Regions from separate parts of the Homo sapiens genome. Here region 1 is linked to region 2. Evidence: promoter capture Hi-C in 16 types of primary human blood cells and fetal thymus (Javierre and others, 2016). All regions are on one chromosome and are shown on one strand. Each heading gives the region's core, a stretch centred on a gene start or on the middle of the fragment in contact. The rest is flanking DNA. Distances are from core to core; before and after follow the strand shown.

Region 1 (3,324 bases), core at 381-2,880, 250 kb before region 2:
TACAGTTGCTGCCAGATGGTAGCTGGGGCTGCAGCCATCCTAAAGCTTTCTCCCTCACATCTTTGGTGGCTGATGCTGGTGGCGGGCCAGGACCTCATCTGTGCCTGTCAGGCAGCACACCTACATGTGGCTTCTCCATGCAACCAGGGCTTCCTTGCAGTATGGCAACTGGGTTCCAAGGGTAGCCTTCCAGGACAACAAGGTGGACAACATGTGCATGGTATTTTTAGGACCTAACCTCAGAAGTCACATAGTGTCCCTCCTGCCACACTCTGTGGGTCAAGGCAGTCAGACAGATCTGCCCAGGCTTAAGGGATGAGGACAGGGACCCCACCCTTCAGTGGGAGGAGTGTCAATATTAGACTGTAGGAAGAGCAGGCGGGCTAGGGAAATGTGGTCTGCTGCAGGGGCCCAAGTTCAGTTGTCACAGCATCCCCTCCAAGGTGGTTAAGCTCTCCTGAAAGACTGAGGCATGAGAGTGAGTGAGCAAGCCACAACCCTGCTGCTGCAGCTGGTCTGAGGCCATGATGGGTCACCACCCTCTGCCACTTGCCACCCCGGATTCCCCACCCTCTGCTCTACAGCCACTCTGCTTATTGTGGAGCCCTTTTCCCCTTTCAGTCTGAGCTCTTACTGTCCCTGTTCTTACTGAGTCATCGTTTTTTTCGTTTGTTTCTTTGTTTTGTTTTGTTTTTTGAGATGGAGTCTTACTCTGCACCCAGGCTAGAGTGCCGTGGCACAATGTCAGCGCACTGCACCCTCCACCTCCAGGGTTCAAGTGATTCTTCTATCTCAGCCTCCCAAGTAGCTGGGAAGGTGGGATTACAGGCACCTGCCACTATGCCTGGCTAAGGTTTTTTTTTTTTTTTTGGAGATGGAGTCTCACTGTCACCCAGGCTGGAGTGCAGTGGCACAATCTCAGCTCACTGCAACCTCCACCTCCTGGGTTCAAACGATTCTCCTACCTCAGCCTCCCAGGTAGCTGGGATTACAGGCATGCACCACCATGCCCTGCTAACTTTTTTTTTGTAGTTTTAGTAGAGATGGGGTTTCACCATGTTGACCAGGCTGATCTTGAACTCCTGACCTCAGGTGATCCACCTGCCTCGGCCTCCCGCCACCACGCATGGCCATTACTGGGTTGTCCACTGACAGTCCTTGCCGCATGCGGGAAGACTAGACGCCCAGGGAGCTCTGTGGACTGCCCACCCCAGTTGTGTAGCATTGACCGTAGCAACTCAGGACAATGAGGACGATGTTGGTCTTCAGCCTAAGGTGTCCAAAGTGGGCCAGTGATAGCCGCTACTTCAAGATCAGTGGAACCTTTGCTGTGTTCCCTGGTGGAAGTATTCATCTTCAGGAACCAGGCCTCCAACCTGGCAGCATTACAGGTTTAGGATTATGGGGCCACTCCTACCTCACACCTTTGGTTCTCTGACCCTCGTACTCCAGCTTTAGGGTACACACATGGGTCGATTCAAATTTTGGAGGCCTAAAGCTTATACAAATTCAGGGGCCGTGAGAGGTATCCCCAAGACCCCTCCAGAGTAACCGATTTGCTAGAAGGACTCACTATAGACTTGTCTTCACGCCTAAGATTATTACACAGAGAGGATATAAGTCTGAATCAGCAAAGAGAAAAGGTGCATGGGATGAATTCCACAGGAAATCAGGCGTGAGCTGGCCACGTCCTCTCCTGGTGGACTCCACGGGAAGAAGCTGGAGCCGTGTGTGTGAAATGCTGTCTGCCAGGGAAGCTTCTTAGACACTCAGCGCCCTGGGGTTTTATGGAGGGCTGGTCACATACACAGTCTGTGCCAAGCATGTGCCCAAATTCCAGACCCCTAGAAGCAACACAGGTGTTCAGCATGAGCCATATTTGTACAAACAGTCTAGGCACAGTGAGACACGCTTACCAGAGAGTGGGGGAACCATGAAAAACCCAAGTTCCCAGACACCCACTCTTCAAACTTGCCTGTGAAGAAGAGCTTCTCAGGCCTGCTGTTAACTCTTCTATGCAGTCTTCTTTTGAAACATAAGACAAAATTGTATATCCAAAACTAAGTGAATAGTGAGAAAAGAAGTCCCAACACATAACAAACATTTTAAAAGTTGTCAAATACTACAAACATCACAAAATGCAGAAAACCTGCCTGACATATTTGACTCCAACAGGTTTCCCCTACATTTCTTTGATGCGTTCTCTGATGCTCTCTTAAGATGACAACACCTTTTTATAACGTAACCTTCTATATGTAGAAAGAATATGGCAGACGCGGTGCTCGCGCTTGTAATCCCAGCACTTTTGGGAGGCAGAGGCAGGCGGATCACTTGAGCCTAGGAGTTCAAGATCAGCTTGGACAACATGGCAAAACCCCATCTCTACAAAAAATGCAAAAAATCAGCTGGACATGGGCCGGGCGCGGTGGCTCACGCCTGTAATCCCAGCACTTTGGGAGGCCGAGGCGGGCAGATCACGAGGTCAGGAGATCGAGACCATCCTGGCCAACACGGTGAAACCCTGACTCTACTAAAAATATCAAAAATTAGCCGGGCGTGGTGGCGGGCACCTGTAGTCCCAGCTACTCGGGAGGCTGAGGCAGGAGAATGGCGTGAACCCAGGAGGCGGAGGTTGCAGTGAGCCGAAATCGCACCACTGCACTCCAGCCTGGGCGACAGAGCGAGACTCTGTCTCAAAAAAAAAAAAAAATTAACTGGACATGGTGGTGCATACCTGTGGTCCCAGCTACTTGGGAGGTGGAGGTGGGAGGCTCACTTGAGCCCAGGAGGTCAAGGCTGCAGTAAGCTGTGGTCACACCACTGCACTCCAGCCTGGGCAACAGAATGAGACCCTGTCAAAACAAAAAACAAATAAACAAAAACCAAGAAAATGATTTAGTTTCTCCTCTCACATGTTTGATCAAAATTTAATTTTATTACTAATAATTAAGTTGCTTTCAGGTAAAAGCTCCTTTGGGTAATATGTACATTTTTAGAATTGTCATTAAATTGGAGGAAACCGCTTATCAAATTTCTTCCACATATGAGCCATAACAGTTCAGGGCTTGGCTGGGTGAGGTAGCTCGTGCCTGTAATCCAACACTTTGGGAAGCTGAGGCAGGAGGATCGCTTGAGGCCAGGTGTCCGAGACCAGCCTGGGCAACATAGTGACACACTATCTCTACAAAAAAAAATTTAAAAATTAACTGGGTATGGTGGCACACGCCTGTAGTTCCAGCTACTTGAGAGACTGAGACGGGAGGGTGGCCTGAGCCGAGGGAGTTGGAGGATGCTGTGAGCTATGATCGTGCCACGGTACTCCTG
Region 2 (3,148 bases), core at 574-3,073:
CGTGCACATTATTGCCAAGGGAAGCTGTCCCCAGAGGGTGGTGCCTGTGGCTTCCCCTGGTGGTGGTGGCAGACCAGCCCCCCACCTCCCATCCACCCCCTCCATTGTGGAGGCCTTGTGTGCCAGGCTAGCCCTAAGAGCACCCACCTGTGTTACTGCTATTCTGTTTTCCAGCTATCTGGTTCTGTCATTATACATTCTGGAAGACTTCATCTTAAAAGCCTATTGAATTGCTCACTTTCCCCTCATGTTTTATTTCTAAGAGCTCTTTCTCATCCCGAGGTTTCTTTCTCTATAGCCCCCAGTTCCTTTTTATTGACTGAGAATGGCATTTTAGTTTTCATTTTTCTTCGGCTTCCTTTATCGTCTCTGTTTCTTCTGAGTCCCTTTTCTTCTTTCTCAGGTGTCTGGTGATCCTGGGCTGTCCAGCTGCATTGAAGAGTGAGATGCTTTTAGTGGCTGGGGCTTATGACCTGGTGAGCTTCGAGGCCAGGGATCTGGCTGGGCCATTCTACTGGGCAACACTCTACCCCTAGGTGCCCTGCCAGTCTTTTCTTTTGAGCTAGGAGCTGCTGCAGAGAGGAGCCCTCTTCTCTGAGAAGCCTGATGGCATGCGGGTGGTCAGACCCAGCCCAGGGGTGGAGGCAGGGGTAGGACCCAGAGTCTCACTTACTCCCAGGCTTTCAGACAGGGCCTTGCTTGAGCAGGGCCTCAGAGCTCCTCTCCTGGAGCTCACGTCTCAGACACTGCAGTGCCTGCCAGCCCCGGTGGGTAGGGACAGAGGTCTGGGGTTTCCTTTCTGTAGCTGTGCTTTCACCCACGACCCTCAGACACTGGCCTCCATAGCCAAGTGGGCTGGAGTAGCTCTCGCTGTCCACCTTTCTTAAGCTCTGCAATATCCCAGCTCTTTGCCCTTGCAGGGTTTGTCTTTATAAAACCCCTTTCCTATAATTTTGGAAGGTTTCAGGAGGGAGGCGGGGAATATTCTGCCCTATTTAAGTAGAAGTGTCTGTATTAAATTCTAAATGTTCCCAGGGTTGAAAGGAGGCCTGCCCGGGATGCCTTGTGGCCTTAGGCAGCTGAAGGTGCCTGAGCTTACAGATGTGGCTTCTTCGGATGACCGAGTTGGGGTCTCGGGACTGGGTGCAGCAGATGGCAAATGTCCAGGACAGGCAGCTTTCCCAGCAGTACTGACAGACACCTTGGGCCATGAAAGCCAGTTCAGGGACTAACGGGGCCTGCGGGCTGCGGGTCTAGCGACTGATGTCAGCCAACCTAGGGTCATCGGTTCCCTGGAAGGAGAAAAAGCTGCCAATTGAACGGGGCCTCCCGGTCCCAGGGATGTCGCGACGCGGGGACGACGCATCTCACGACGTCAGCCTGAAACACGCGGGCCTTTCATCACCCGAGACTCCTCCAGCCCAGGAGGGCCCCGCTCTTTCGCCTGCCTCCTGGGGGAGAGCCTCTGGACGACGCACGCGACAGCGTTTTCTCCAAAAAAGGCAGAGAAGAGAAGCGTAGCAGTGGCCGCAAGGGCGACGGGCGGCGAAGGGTACTACGCACGCCCGCGTCGGCCACGCGGAGAGATACGCCCGACTCGAGTCCCGCGGCGCACGCCCCTAGACGCCCGAGGTGCGCGGGCCACGCCCCTCGCCCGGCCAAGAGCACGCCCCTTCCGTCGCCCCTCCCGGGGGCGTTTACCGTTCCTCCCCGCCCCGGAAGCGCGTTCTTACCTCCTTCCTCGCGAGAGTTCCGTGCACCGGCACCCAGATCGCGCGAGACAGCGGAAGGAGCAAGAGTGGGAGGCGCGCGCGGAGGCCGCGACGGACGCAAGATGGCGACGGCGACCATAGCTCTCGTAAGTGAGCCCCCCCATGAGCGCGGGCGGCCCTCGGCTTGCGGGGCCGGGTCGTCGACCCAGCCTGGGCGCGGAGGGCCTCCCAAGAACGCGGCGGTCTTCCCAGGTCCCGCGCGGACTCCCTCGTGTCCCCGGGTCGCGTGAGGCGGGGGCGGGGCGGGCGCGCGCCGGCGGCCGGCTCGCGGCCTCAGCTTCCGGCCTGCGGACCCCAGCTTCCGGCGGGGCGGGGCGGGGGCCTGGGCGCGGCGTGTGGCCCTTGCGGGCGAGCCTGGCGGGGTTGCGTTCCTGTCCGCTAGGTCCGGCAAGCGGGGGTCGTCGTCCTCCCTTTGCCGACGGGGGTGTGCGCCGTGGTCACGACGGAAGCGGGGTTCTGGGGGTGACGCGTGGGCCTTCGGGTTGATGGGATCAGAAGGGGACGGGACCTGTAGAAAGGGGCCTGCAGCTCAGAGCATGGGGCGGCCTTGGCTCACTACGCCTGCAGCTGTGAATTCGTTCTCCGGTGCTGGAGAGGGATCTGGTTATCTCCATTCTCTTGTCTCCACGTGGAAAGGAAGGACGTGCGCTCTCATCCTACGTGTTTTGAGAAATCGCATTGTCCCCAGCTCTGCGGGAGGATCTGGGGACGCAGTGGGGAACCAGACAGGCAGTTGGAGGTCTAGTGCGCACCAGAAGCCAGTTCCCACCCAGGGTGCCATTTGCTGGGCGCCCTAGGGAGCTGCGTGGGCATCCAGAGGAGTGAGTCGCCCCCTGCTCTGCTCAGTGCCCACTTCCCCGGGCAGGGCAGGCGTTATTAACGTAGAGGGAGAACACCCATGCACACAACACATGCACGATGAAGTCTGGTCTTTCCTTCTCACCACTTAGCTTATAGGACCTAATCCCCTTTTGGACCTTTCTCAGCCGCAGTTTACCCCTGTATTACTTGTCACCCTTCCCCCAGCCCACACCCAGCGGGATGGGATAAGGTCTGTTTGAGAAGACAGCTTGGGCAAATGGCTGAAGGCTGGACTGGCAGGACCAGGGAGTGTCCTTAGACTGCCATTGCCAGGCCCCCAGCGGGCGGGCTGGTCCCATGTCCCACTGAGGCAGAAACCAGTTACTAGGGGGAGAGAGGCATTTACACAAGATACCCAGCTTGCGAGGGCAGCCCAGTGTGTGATTCACAGGACTGGCTAACTCCACTCTTTCTACTATGTCCTTTCTCTTGAAGCCACAGGAGTAAGTGACCTTTGAGGGGCACTCCAGAGAGAAAGGATGTAAGGGTTGAGGACCTGGTGACTGTCTTCAGGC

The links. Contacts are between HindIII fragments. The CHiCAGO score rates a contact against its expected background, and 5 or more counts as called.
Region 1: a contact is called between a fragment that was not itself captured here and the fragment with the promoter of PUF60 in region 2, in 1 of 17 cell types (non-activated CD4 T cells). The highest score is 6.2, in non-activated CD4 T cells.

What each region holds. Positions count from the first base shown.
Region 1 is chr8:144,074,616-144,077,939 of GRCh38, reverse strand. It overlaps a transcript of EXOSC4 not described here. Among named protein-coding and RNA genes, the nearest start is that of EXOSC4, 2.4 kb to the left of the region's middle. The HindIII fragment of the contact is 259 bases long and covers 1,501-1,759 here.
Region 2 is chr8:143,827,990-143,831,137 of GRCh38, reverse strand. It overlaps PUF60 (poly(U) binding splicing factor 60), which reads left to right and starts at 1,823. Exons shown (of 12, transcript NM_078480.3): 1 at 1,823-1,858. The coding sequence starts at 1,835. It overlaps LOC107986985 (a long non-coding RNA gene), which reads right to left and starts at 1,858. Exons shown (of 3, transcript XR_001746138.2): 1 at 1,734-1,858; 2 at 1,100-1,292; 3 at 1-429. It also overlaps a transcript of NRBP2 not described here. RefSeq lists enhancers at 532-1,731, 1,052-1,751 and a silencer at 1,536-2,105. The HindIII fragment of the contact is 7,973 bases long and covers 1-3,148 here.